3 separate regions of the Homo sapiens genome follow, and all the other regions are linked to region 1. Evidence: promoter capture Hi-C in human tissues and cell types (Jung and others, 2019). All regions are on one chromosome and are shown on one strand. Each heading gives the region's core, a stretch centred on a gene start or on the middle of the fragment in contact. The rest is flanking DNA. Distances are from core to core; before and after follow the strand shown. Region 1 holds the start of POMC (proopiomelanocortin). Region 2 overlaps LOC105374329 (a long non-coding RNA gene). Region 3 has its middle 23 kb from the start of NCOA1.

Region 1 (4,479 bases), core at 1,613-4,112:
GGACAGTAAGGAGGGGGCATCCATGGTGCCCCTAGCCCCCTGTACCCACCCCTCTCTCCAGCACTACCCTCGCACTGCCAAATTTCCCTTAACCAGGTGGGCCCCCTGAAGCCACCTCGAGGCCGGAGATCAGCTCACCGCCAACCCTACAATCATTTTGGATTTCAGAAGATCTTCTCAGCCAGCTGCTAGAAAGAAATGTAATTAGATGAGAAAAGTAATTCACATTAAAGCGTGGATGACTAAGTGTCTTGTCACTCCTAATGAACGCTGGCATTTTAAAATAAGTTTGCCTAAAATAAATCTCTCATTTGGGGAGGCGTGGGCCAAATCTTTTTTATATAGGGGAGGCTTTGGAAGTGAAAGTCCTCTGAAGCGCTGATTTCTACTTCAGGAGGCCACTTCCTTCTCTCTACCCCACCCTCGCCCTATTCCCCAGGCGCTGGGCCTGCACGGTGCTAGCTTCTGAAGGGTTGCCGGGCAAGGCTGAGCATTTTCAGAGCAGCCATTAGATGGCACTGGCAGCCAGTGACTGGCCCAGGTGCGCTTCGGCTAAAGGGGCAACTGAACGAGCTTTGGTCAACCTTGGTGTCCTCTCCTGGCTCCAAGGGACAGGCTGTTCCCATTGTACCCTGCCAGTGATCTATTCAAGTACACAGCCAGAACTTGGTGGACCAGGCAATTAGATTAAAGCTCCAAGTTGACCATAGCACATTTAGCTCTGAAAAATGCCCAGATGTTACAGTCACAGAAAAATGGTAGTTACGTATGTCACCAAATGCAAATGTAAAGTAACATATTAGTAAAGGAAAAAACAAAATCTTACAGGTCTGATAGTTCCCTCAATTATATTTCAATTCTTGTCAAAGATAACTACTCTGGAGTGATTTCCATTTGCTAGAAGCAATGACTTCAGGCCTTCCTGGAAAGCCCCAGAGAGCATTTCCCCTCCTTATGCCCTATGTGCTGTGTTGTACAATGTGGTAACATATTCACTCCCACCCTCTCAGAGCTTATATTCTGTTGCTAAACTGGTTAGATGGCTGCTATTGCTAAAACTTCAGATTCTTCCCTGAAAGATGGTCTTGTGTTTGTATTGTATATTTTGCTTATGTGTATGTGTATTTGCTTATGTGTATTTTCAGTTCTCTACAATGAACAAATAGTACCTTTTGTGTCATTTTTAAAGCAACAAATTATTGGGGAAATATCAAATGTTGTGCTTTTTTAAGTAGGGAAAGTATTATAATCCAAAAATGGAAAGCTCTGGAAAAATAGAAACTTGAAATTTGCTCATCCTGAGATTAACTTTATAGTAGAACTACACTTATTAGAACTTCATAGGTGTGAGGGGCTCTCTATGAGCTCAACAAATCATTTTGCTTGTTACTGTAAAACTGCACGCTGGCCATGACCTTTTGTAAAGATTAGAGGAGCACAGGGGCCGAGTTTTGTCCTTACACCATGACATACATGCATCGAGTCCTATAACAAAAGCATCAAAGGAACAGTAAGTCATTAAAGTGGCCATAATCTGTGCAGAGTTTATAAACTGACACACACACAAAAAAAATCCACACACACTTTTATTTTCCTTGGCTCCTTCCAGCCATTCTGTAAGAACCCTCCCTGCCCCATTTAAACATGAAGAATTTGGGGAATCCAAATGCCAAGTGGACTGTCTCTCCTTCGCTGGAAACGCCCCTTACCTGAGCCTTGATCATTCCAAATGGCTGCCCGTGCCCTCAACCCAGGATCTGCGCCATAAACCGTCCACCCCGGTTCTGTTGAGGGCATCCGAAACTAGACAGTGCGTTTCAGGATCTAGGACAGCTCCCGCCCCGGCCACCTGTTTTTAACCCCAGCTAGGTCTTGGAGAGAAGAGACCCAACTATTCTGCATTGTAATTGACCCAGTTATCATGTAATTATCATAGCGCGGCCACCTCGGGTGCGCTAAGGTGGGCAAGGAAACAAGGATTCAGGGGTCTGAATCCGAAAAAATCCGGAAGGCAGGGCGTTCATTATGACTTTTATCCTTTTCTCTGCTGCCCCGTTTCCAACATTAATTTGCGATAGCGTGTATGGAATTTGACTTTCAAGATGTGACACCTATCCTGGAAACTGGGAGCAAGAGATACTAAAAGACCGGGCTGGCCGGGGGCGGTGGCTCGCGCCTGTAATGCCAGAACTTTGGGGGGCCAAGGCGGGCGGATCACCTGTTGTCGGGAGTTTGAGACCAGCCTGACCAACATGGAGAAACTCCGTCTCTACTAAAAATACAAAAATTAGCCGGGCGTGGTGGCGCATGCCTGTAATCCCAGCTACTCGGGAGGCTGAAGCAGGAGAATCGCTTGAACCCGGGAGGCGAAGGTTGCGGTGAGCAGAGATCACCCCTTTGCTCTCCAGCATGGGCAACAAGAGCGAAACTCCGTCTCAAAAAAAAAAAAAAAGACCGGGTTGTCCCAAGACCTCCTAGCAAGCTCTCGGAGCCTCCGGACCGCCGCGAGCCCCTGGGGGAGAGGAGGCCGCCGGCTCCCTGGAGACAGCGCCTGCAGCTTCGCGGCCGTCCGCCCAGGGGCCGGACGTGGGCCCTCCAGCTCAGCTACTGGCGGCTTCTCATGCCGCAGTCGGCGCAGAAAGTTTGTCGAGAACTCGGGACCGCGGAGAGCCAGAGGCGCCCAGGTCCGCCTTCGGAGCCGGAGCCGGCCGACTGCATCGCGAGGACGGGGACAGGGGATCCCGGGGAAAGAGCACGGGTCCCCCACGCTGCGCCCTTACCTGTCTCGGGAGGCTGCTCTCTGAGGGCGGGGACGCTCGGCGGCCTCTCTCGGTCGCGGCTCTTCTTCCCCTCCTTCGCCGCCGCTTGGTCCCGCGCTCCTCTGTCCTTATATACTTGCCGAGCTCTCCTGGTGGGCGCGGGACTTTGACCTTCCCGGCAGCACAAGGAGCAGCTCCCCGGGCCAGGGGAAGGGGGGCCGCGGGGCGTGGGAGGGGGGCTTCCAGACGGGGGACGAGCGCGGGGAGACGCGCTGGAAAGGGGCTGGAATTAGCACTGTCCTGCCGAAGGCGCACCTGGCCGCTCGCCCTCAGGAAGAACTTAATTATGGATGGCGTTGGGTCTCCGCTTAGAACGGGCGGGAGGCTTAGCACCCCCGTGTGGGGCAGGCCGGGCAGCCTCTGAGGTCGTTGAGGCGAGGGTGAAGTTACCTGCGTGCGTGCTGGGGCTGGCATCTGCCTGGTTCGCATTTGGCGGTAAATATCACCGTCTGCACACGGGGAGGCCTCCGATTTCCCCATTGTTTGGAAACTGTGATGTGGAAGTCGTGGGGAATCATATTCTCTCTGTTCCACTTTGGGGAGGGGAGGAGGGAGCAGAAGTCAGGAGCCGTCTTGTGGGTGTGAAGGTGAGTTGCACTGCTCCCCTGGGGCCTGCTCTCCAAGGGCCTGGTTTAGGGGAGGCTCCCTTCCGTGTCCCAAGCCTCAAGGAAAAAGTCCTGTTAACCTAAACCATTAAATGGGGAGAGGGTGATGCTGTGAAGAGCAGCTGAAGTGCTTTCCCTGTGGCCTCTGATCCCTCCCTTTGCCATGAGCTGGCAGGGTGGTCTGGGGACTCAGACAATTTTCAACATCCCCCTTGGCCCTGGAGTTCTGGCTTGGCTTTAGTTCCAAATATCAGACCAGAGAGAAGAGTACAGCACTCAAACCAAGCTAAGAGACTCTACCTTAACCTGGAGTAAATAAACAAAACCAAATTGTGCGATGTGGTGGGTGTGGGAGGGAGTATTGGGACTAAACTGGACTTCAAATCAAGACACTTGCTTAATCTGCCAAATGCCAGAACTTTCCTGATTCCCCATGAGATGCTCTTTTGGACTCCAGGACTCTCTTGTGGATTCAGCTTTTCTGGTGACATTGGCTTTACATTCAGCAATCCTTTCCCTTTGGACCACAAGAGAGATCCAAGCTCCGTCACAGTAGACAAGGTGCTTCATCACCCGGCTTTGGCCCCTTTCCAGGGCCATTTCCCAGTTCTCCACCTTGCATCCTGGCACTTCAGCATCCACAACATTCACACTGCTAGAACATGGCTTTCTTGGGTCTCCATTGTCCAAGCTGTTCCCCCAACTAGAACATCCTTCCTCTCTCCAGCCATCCAGGAGCTTGACTCACATCAAGATGTAGCCCATCCATCAGCCCCTGTTCTCTGAAGCCCTCTTTGGCCACTTTTCCTACCAGGGGCATGAGGCATGACCTCCTCTGCCTTCCACAGAAGTCCATCCCCATCTTGTCAGTGCAAGTGGCTTGCACTAATTCACTTCTGTCCCCATTTTTTTAATCTTCCATCCACCCCACGACCACCATCAGGTTTGTAAACTCTTTCAAGCAGATGGTGGTTTTGCCTTATTTTACTTTGTGTTATTTTTGTAACTTCAGGAGGCTGCTGGTGGCAGCAGATAAAACAAACCAGGAAAAATCC
Region 2 (4,479 bases), core at 1,029-3,528, 740 kb before region 1:
TTGGTCCCAAGTCCCTAGAGCCTTAATAATGAATGGCCTTGGGCTTAGAGACTCAGTGTTTAAATACGTCAGTGTCTTCAACCTTCACCTAACATTACTCATGCTACCTGCCTGCCCCATGGTAATTCCTGGCTTTAATGCTTTTCTACTTTTAAAACAACTAGGTGGTTTTTTTTCTCCAGGAACTAGGAGAATCATTTTCTGAGAAGGAAGAGTGGGCTCCACCTAATTGTGTATGGAGTTGACTGTCAAGTCCAGATTCCAACACAGAATCAAAAGATGCTGAGAATATCTTGTGTTGAGCTCTCCCTGACTTGTAACTTGCCTTTAGGGAGTTAATTTGATTCGAGGGCTAGTATCCATAATATTTGTAATCACCTGTTATTTAATTGATTCAAATATTGTTTTGTCATGTGGGACAGCCTCTTGATGCTAAGCAAGTCAAAAGCTGCCCCAGTTCATTGTTGATGTCATTCCTTTTCTTCTTTTTTTTTTTTTTTTTTTTTTGAGATGGAGTCTCGCTCTGTCACCCAGGCTGGAGTGCAGTGGCGTGATCTTGGCTCACTGTCACCTCTGCCTCCCGGGTTCAAGCAATTCTTCTGCCTCAGCCTCCCGAATAGCTAGGATTACAGGCGCCTGCCACCTTGTCTGGCTAATTTTATGTATTTTTAGTAGAGACAGGTTTCCACTCTGTTGGCCAGGCTGGTCTCCAACTCCTGACCTCATGATCCACCCAACTTGGCCCCCCAAAGTGCTGGGATTACAGGTGTAATCATACAGACTCCCCAGTGGGTTCATCCTTTTCCCAAATCTGCACACCACGTTAATGCACTCTGTGGGGAGATTATTTTTAGTCATCAAATTCCTTAACATGTTGGTGATGAATTTTCTGCTACAGAATTTTTTCTTTTTTTTTTTTTTTGCATTTAAAAAAATCAAATCACAGCATGGCTTTCATCTGGGAACCACATGTCTAGGAAAGTAATTATTTCAAACCCAAGGGCACAACCAACTGTAGCTAAAATGGATTCAGTTTTTGGTTCTGTCATACCTGCTCAGAAAGCACTGTGCTCTCAACAAACTCACTGTGCTACATACACATTGGGCAGTGTCCACCAGCCTCAAAAATGTCTTCCTAAATGACTGATATTGGGGACCTGAAGTTTGAGGGAGTTTGTAGTCTCTGGAAATGGAGAACAGGAACCAGGTAAAGCTGTCGATTTTGCGGGATTCTGAAGTGATGGGATGCAGATGCAAGAACACAGAACTACAGGAGAATTTTACAAAATCTGCTATCTGTATTGTTGTTGACTGTGCTATGAAAGGAAATTAGATGGTAAGTTCCTTCATGGAAAGGAAGTAACTTATCCTTAGCACATACTTGCTTAGAACAGGTGATTTCATGATGAAAGGAAATAAAACCTTGACCTCGCAAAGAAAAAAACCTAGTGTCTCTTGTGTCTGCATTTCAATCAATCATCATGGAATGAGGGCAGAGAAGGATAATTATACTCCTTAAAGAGTAATTCAACTAAACTTGGTGTCTGTGTTTATGAACATCATGTAGGTAAGTGTCAGCTTCCTCAGAAAGGCATTTTCCCAATGGAAAAAGCTGTAGACTGAAGGGGAAGACTTGGATCTTGATTCTGAGACTTGTACATGTTTGACCTTGAATATGCCACCAAATGTCCCCAAGACTCAGTGTATTCTGTAGAAATCAATTGTGAAAATATAATGGGCACACGGACTAGTGCATTCATTCAGGACAGCAATCCAACCTTCCCCAGAGAAGCTGAGTGACAGGAGCCTTTTTGGCCCTGCAGCCCCCAAGAGAAGCTCACCTCAGGCCCAAAAGTTCACCTTTATGAGGATGTTCATTGCATGTAATCCCAGCACTCTGGGAGGCTGAGGTGGGTGAACCACTTGAGGCCAGGAGTTCGAGACCAGCCTGGCTAACATGATGAAACCCCGTCTCTACTAAAAATACAAAAATTAGCTGGGCGTCGTGGTGCACACCTGTAGTCCCAGCTACTTGGGAGGCTGAGGCAGGAGAATCACTTGAACCTGGGAGGCAGAGGTTGTAGTGAGCCGAGATTGTACCCACTGCACTCCAGCCTAGGCAACAGAGCAAGACTCCGTCTCCAAAAAAAAAGAAAAAAAAAAAAAGTGCGCATCAAGCTAGTATCCATCTCTAGGGAAATGAATAACTAAAATATGAAGGGTCCTTATCACAAAACACTCTGTAGCAATTAGAAGTGATGAATTAGATATACGGAGCAACATGGATGAACTACAATTCATAGTACGGTGTGAATAAATGAGAGATAGAACAATATCATGTTGGCTAGTTAAAATCACATTCATGGAACAACCCACGTATCTATCAAAGATAAATAACTCTCTCTGAGGACATATTCCAAACATACTAGAGAGGATGCCTATGGAAGTGAAGATTGAGGAAATGGCAATATAAAATACGAGAGGGGCCCCTTGTCCAGAACCAATGACAAGAATGTGGCAAGCAAACACCTCTGGCCTAACCAGAAGCACAGCAAAAACTGTCCTTCCTCACCCCCTCAGAGTGGGAATTGCTTCACCCCTTCTGCTTGCTATCACGGAGTTTCTTGTTTTTAAACTGTTCTCTGGGAGTCCCTGGCCATGGCTTTTCCTACACTCTGTTAAGTGATACCATCGATAAAACTTAGAGCTCATGTACAGTTTGCAAATATCCTTTTGTTCTTTAGATTTTCCTAGTCAAATTAAGTATTAGATGTGGATATGAAGTAATGAGTTTTTAAGCTTCTTCCAAATGAATGTTATTTCTTTCAAAGCAGTCATAGTTTCCAGCAGTTCTGCCAAAGCTTGAAACATTTTTGGAACTGTGTGTGTGTGTGTCTGTGTGTGTGCATGCACATTCACATTGTGTGTGCATGTGTGTGTGTGTACAATGTGCTTAAAGACCAATCAAACTTTATATTATTTTCTTTTTTTTGAGACAGTCTCTGTCACCCAGGCTGGAGTGCAGTGGCGCCATCTCGGCTCACTGTAAGCTCCGCCTCCCAGGTTCACACCATTCTCCTGTGTCAGCCTCCCAAGTAGCTGGAACTACAGGCACCCACCACCACGCCTGGCTAATTTTTTGTATTTTTAGTAGAGACGGGGTTTCACCGTGTTAGCCAGGATGGTCTTGATCTCCTGACTTTGTGGTCCGCCCGCCTTGGCCTCCCAAAGTGCTGGGATTACAGGCGTGAGCCACCACGCCCAGCCTCAAACTTTGTATTATTTTCAAATCTAGTCTTACATTACCTGATCACTGCCCACCTAGGCAATCTCATCTCATCCTCTTCTCCCCATTTTGCCCACAGTGTTCCAGGCACTCCTGGCTTCTTTTAGTTTCTCCAGTGTGCACAATGCATTCTTGCTGGGGGTAGCTGTTCCATTTGTCTGAGATGCTCATCCTTCTGGTCTTCCTTCTCAAGGTGGGCTCCTTTCTGTTGCACAGGTCTTACTTAAATGTCACATCCTTAGAGAAGCTTTCTCTGACCACCCAAACCAAAGAACCATCTAAGGACTTGCTATCTCACCATCCTGCTTTTAATTTTTCCACTGTCACCACTATCAGATATTTGCTTGTTTAATGACTGTACCCCCAATTTAAATAAAAGTCACATATTCTCACGGGGCTCAGTGGCTCACGCCTGTAATCCCAGCACTTTGGGAGGCCGAGGCATGCGGATGACTTGAGACGAGGAGTTGGAGACCAGCTTGCCAACTTGGTGAGACCCTGTCTCCACTAAAAGAACTACAAAATTATCTGGGCATGGTGGCACGCACCTGTAATCCCAGCTACTCAGGAGGCTGAGGCAGGAGAATCACTTGAGGTTGCAGTGAGCCGAGATCATGCCATTGCACTCCAACCTAGGCAACAGAATGAAACTCCGCCTCTTAAAAAAAAAAACACATATTCTCATGGCCAAGAAAGGTGCCTGCTACATGATAGGTGCTATGAGAATGTTTGTTGAGCACACTGGAGTATGAGGAACTCAGATCTCTGCCCCTGAGGTCCAAAAAATAAGCAACTTAAGTATAAGAGGTTATTGTAGATTTTCTCCTTTGTTAATTGGCTTATTCTTTTATTACATCACTTCATTGCTAACTTTGCGTCACATATCCCTATTTATTTATTTATTTATTTATTTATTTATTTATTTATTTATTTTTTGAGACAGAGTCTCACTCTGTCACCCAGGCTGGAGTACAGTGGCACGATCTTGGCCCACTGCAGCCTCCTCCTCCCGGGTTCAAGCGATTCTCCTGCCTCAGCCTCCCAAGTACAAGTGCGTGCTGCCATGCCCAGCTAATTTTTTGTATTTTTAGTAGAGACTGGCTTTCACCGTGTTAGCCAGGATGGTCTCAAATCTCCTGACCTCATGATCTGCCTGCCTCGGCCTCCCAAAGTGCTGGGATTACAGGTGTGAG
Region 3 (4,479 bases), core at 1,218-3,717, 700 kb before region 1:
TGCAAAAAATTAGAAACAAAAAAACTAGTCAGGGCAGGGTGCAGTGGCTCAAGCCTGTGATCCTAGCACTTTGGGAGGCCAAGATAGGTGGATCACTTAAGGTCAGGAGTTCGAGACCAGCCTGGCCAACATGGTGAAACCCCATCTCTACTAAAAATACAAAAATTAGCTGGGCACGGTGGCATGCACCTGTAATCCCCCCTACGCAGGAGGCTGAGGCAGAAGAATCGCTTGAACCCAGGAAGCCAAGGTTGCAGTGAGCTGAGATTGTGCCACTGCACTCCAGCCTGGATGACAGAGTGAGACTCCCTCTCAAAAAAAAAAAAAAGTTAGTCGGGTATGCTGTTGTGTACCTACAATTTCAGCTACTAGGGAGGCTGAGATGAGAGGATTACCTGAGCCTGGGAGGTCGAGGCTGCAATGACTATGAGCAAGCCACTGCACTCCAGCCTGAGTGACAGAGCAAGACTCTGTCTCAAAAAAGAAAAAAGTAAAACTGGACATATGCAGAAAATAAAATAATCTCAATAGAGAGGCCAGGGAGAGGGAAATGTTTTTCTAACTTTTTTGTTGTGAACCACAGTAAGAAATACATTTTACATCTTCACTCAGTACACATTGTGTGTGTGTGTGTGTGTGTGTGTGTGTGTGTGTGTGTAATTAAAACAACCAAAACATCTTTTTTAAAATAACAGTACATACTATTCTTTTTAAAAAATGCTGGTCATGACCATCCAAATTGATTTCATGACCTACAGTTTGAAAAACATTGCCCTGAGGTGATAGGTGATAGTGTCAGAATCTTGGGAGAGGGTAAGATTTTTAAGTTTATCAAAAAAGAAGCATTTTTCAAACAGTTGACCATGTCCTTAAGAGTGCAGACTTACTTTTCTTTTTATTTTCTTTAGGGCCTCTGCTATATTTCTTTCTTTTATTCCTGCTTACATGGACAATTGAGTGAGATTGCAAAACCAGGTTACTACAGCATGTGGAAATCTTAGATGATATACTACATGAAGTTGGTAAGTCGCAGGTACATGGTTCCATTGTTTTAACTTAAATTAATCTAACAACCTATTAAAAGCTTGTTTAATAAATAGTTTATCATGTGGTTTTTAGTTCTATCAGGTCAATTTTACCCCCCATTCTAAATGCAGGTCCAGTTCTTAGCTCACCTGGCTCACAGGGAAGCAAAGTCCTATTTTCCCTACATACTTGAGACTTCATCCTCCCATACAGGATCGGTCACATTCCACTCAGTCTCTTGAAATCCCAAGCAGTGATATTCTCTCGTCACCTCCACCCACCCGTGCATCAACATACCTTGCAACTGGCTTCTCTTGCTGGCCTTCTACTTAAACTGCTTTTAAAGTAAAGCCCTTTCTAAGAGTGACTTTCTAATCTTTTCTCCTAGATCCTGATCTCACAGCTCCTATATTCTGCTTCTTCCTACAGATCCATTTCCTGTCTATTGGCAGCTTCGTCTGCATTATCATTGTTTCTTGTCTCTTGAACTTTGGTTGGCAACTTGCAATCCTTTTGACTTCAGCCACCACTGCTTTGTTTTTTCCTCAGTCCTAAGTCCTGAGAGAGGGAAAGCAACTTGCTTAGCTCACATTTCGCACCAGATGGCCCCAGGCCGGGGGCCCCCTCTTTCTTCAGTCATTCATTTTTTGGTTACTTTTGGAGGGAGATGTGGTGTGGCATCTCCAGGGAACTTACTCAAGAAGAGGTAGTTGGGAGAGAAGGTAGAAAATGGGTTATCTCTAGCTGAACTTCAGGTTCAACGTCATCTTTATTTTGATCTACAGAGTCCTAGTAGATGACAATACAGGTCTATACACAAGTGATAAATTGTGCAATCAACCAATTCATCCATTTCACAAATGGGAGTGATTGTTTGCTTTATGAAGTGAACTCTTACTTTATATGAGGAACCATCATGGGATTCCTTCAAACAGCAAATTCTCTTTTCATATATACAAAATGATTTATTTTACAAAGGGTGATTACCTGTGGCTTTCTCTCAGGAAAAGGAAGTGAGGTGTCTTCCATCACAATCATATGCCTTACAGTTTTGATACAATACTCAGTCCAGTTCATTGATTTCCATTCTTAAGTACATAAAAATCTTTTTTCTCCCTGGTTTATTTATAGTTGCATCCCATGGACAAATATCCTTTACTCAACATCTCCTTTTACTTTCTTACATTTATCTTGGCTTTCTTTTCCTTTTTACTGTTTACTCCTACACCATTTCCCCTTCCCATTTTAGTCAAATTTGCTTTTGCTCTTTTTGTGCACTTCATAGGTGGACATCCAAGGACATTGATGAATGAAGCTCCAGTCAAGGGTCTGTAGTGTTAAGGCAGCCACATCCAGGCTCTCATAGCACAGAAATACCAGTAACGCTATTGCTCAGGTGTGCTGCGTATGCTTATTCTACTATGCAAGTGATTATATGCCTCAGTTCCACAGTTGACCTTATATCCCAAATCAGCTCAATAAATTAGAATACTTGGCCCCTTTTTTTTAACTTTTATTTTAGGTTCAGGGGACATGTGCAGGTTTGTTATATAGGTAAACTTGTGTTATGGGGGTTTGTTAAATAGATTATTTTGTCACCCAGGTACTAAGCCTAGTACACAATAGTTATTTTTTCTGATCCTCTCTCTTCCCACCCTCCACCCTCAAGTAGGCACAAGTGTCTGTTGTTTCCCTCTTTATGTCCATGTGTTCTCATCATTTAGCTCCCACTTCTGAGTAAGAACATCTGCTATTTGGTTTCCTGTTCCTGCATTAGTTTGCTAAGGACAATGGCTTCCAGCTCCATCCATGTTCCCACAAAGGACATGATCTTGTTCTTTTTTATGGCTGCATAGTATTCCATGGGACGTTCATACACTGTTAGTGAGAGTGTAGCTCAACTGTTGTGGAAAGCAGTGTGGCAATTCCTCAAAGAGCTAAAAGCAGAACTACCATTCAACCCAGCAATCCCATTACTGGGTATATACCCAAAGGAATACAAATTATTCTACCATAAAGACACATGCATGTGTATGTTCATTACAGCACTATTCACAATAGCAAAGACATGGAATCAACCTAAATGCCCATCAATGACAGATTAGACTTGGCCTCTTATGGAAACATATTTTGTTGTTGTTGTTGTTGTTGTATATAATGGCCCTGACTCATTAACTCCTTAAGTCATTCCCCACGTTAGCTAGTTTTCTGTTATCTTCACTTTGATGTTAAGCCAACATCTTAGCATATTTAAAATTGAATTTCTCATACTCTTAGTCACATTATATTCCCTTTCCAGCTTCCTTACTGATGATGATGATGATGAACATTACTGCCTTTCACTTGTCCAGCACATTGCAGCTTTCCTGCACATCATCTTATTTGTGCCTTACAAAACCACTATGTGGTGAGCAGAGACACTTTACAAATGAGAAGAGTGGGCTAAGAGGGGTTAAGTCACTTGTTCAAAGTGGTAGGGACAGGTCTTCTCACTCTCGGTCCTATGCCTTAAGCTCAGAGGCACTACCCTGCTTCTCAAGCTAATAACCTCATCATTCTTTCTGTTCCTTTTTCTCTTGCACGTCCCATGTCTAACTCATCAAAAACTTATCCTAATTTTTTCTTCTACAATGTCTCATACTTGCCATTATCAAAGCAGTTAAACAACTGCCTTCTTGGTTCAGGCCCTCATCTGCTCATTTGTGAGTCACTGCAAGCATCTCCTGTTTTCCACATTTCTGTTCTTTTCTGCTCTAATTCATCCAAAAGGCATTGGTTAGAATATTGTTTATTTTGCATATTTTCTCTCTTTCATATCTTCTTCCCTTTTTTTGGAATGAAGGGTCCACATAGCAGTTGTTGGGACAGCTAGTAATTACCTTAGTAATTCCCATGCCCCACTTGAATAGCAAATATCTGTGGATAATTGGAAAAATAATGTGTGAAGATGCTGCTCTCATGGTATCACTCCCTTGTGGCCCATATCAGTTTTCTATTTCCTGTTCTGGAAAATGCAATCCCTGCAGGCCCTATATCCAAGACTGTCTATTAACTGAATTTGCAGACCCTGCCCTAAGTACCAAGGTGATGTAGTATTTATGCCATCTGTCTCAAATTCAAGGGTGCTTGTAGCCAGGGGACTACCTTCAGGGGAATAAGTGATGTATAGCTATAAATTTTGGTGATGCCAGAAGTAGCCCAAATAATATGAAAAGAAGCAACATGTACTGTGTACCTTTTTGATGCCACCAACAACTCTGGTATTTTACCTACTTTATCTAATTGAATGCCAACATCAACCCTGCAAAGCAGAAAAGCACAGGGGTGGGGTGCAGGGAATCCCAGCTAGGCCGACAAACCTAGGTTCAGCCCAGAGTTCTGACAGATCTATAAATGTCTGGAAGTCTGTTGGGAGGGAATCTATTTGCTTCAAGAATCAAGGAAGTCCAGAGA

Evidence for each region. Contacts are between HindIII fragments. The study calls those that stand out against the background at their distance.
Region 2: a contact is called between a fragment that was not itself captured here and the fragment with the promoter of POMC in region 1, in 2 of the 25 tissues and cell types used here (aorta and lymphoblastoid cells).
Region 3: a contact is called between a fragment that was not itself captured here and the fragment with the promoter of POMC in region 1, in 1 of the 25 tissues and cell types used here (pancreas).

What each region holds. Positions count from the first base shown.
Region 1 is chr2:25,165,718-25,170,196 of GRCh38, forward strand. POMC (proopiomelanocortin) reads right to left here and starts at 2,863. Exons shown (of 3, transcript NM_000939.4): 1 at 2,781-2,863. RefSeq lists a promoter at 2,737-3,549, cis regulatory regions at 2,888-2,900, 2,966-3,139, 3,140-3,165 and an enhancer at 2,960-2,979. The HindIII fragment of the contact is 18,073 bases long and covers 1-4,479 here.
Region 2 is chr2:24,424,533-24,429,011 of GRCh38, forward strand. All of the region lies in intron 2 of LOC105374329 (a long non-coding RNA gene), which reads left to right. Among named protein-coding and RNA genes, the nearest start is that of NCOA1, 64 kb to the right of the region's middle. The HindIII fragment of the contact is 4,125 bases long and covers 217-4,341 here.
Region 3 is chr2:24,465,803-24,470,281 of GRCh38, forward strand. No RefSeq gene overlaps it. Among named protein-coding and RNA genes, the nearest start is that of NCOA1, 23 kb to the right of the region's middle. The HindIII fragment of the contact is 6,412 bases long and covers 1-4,479 here.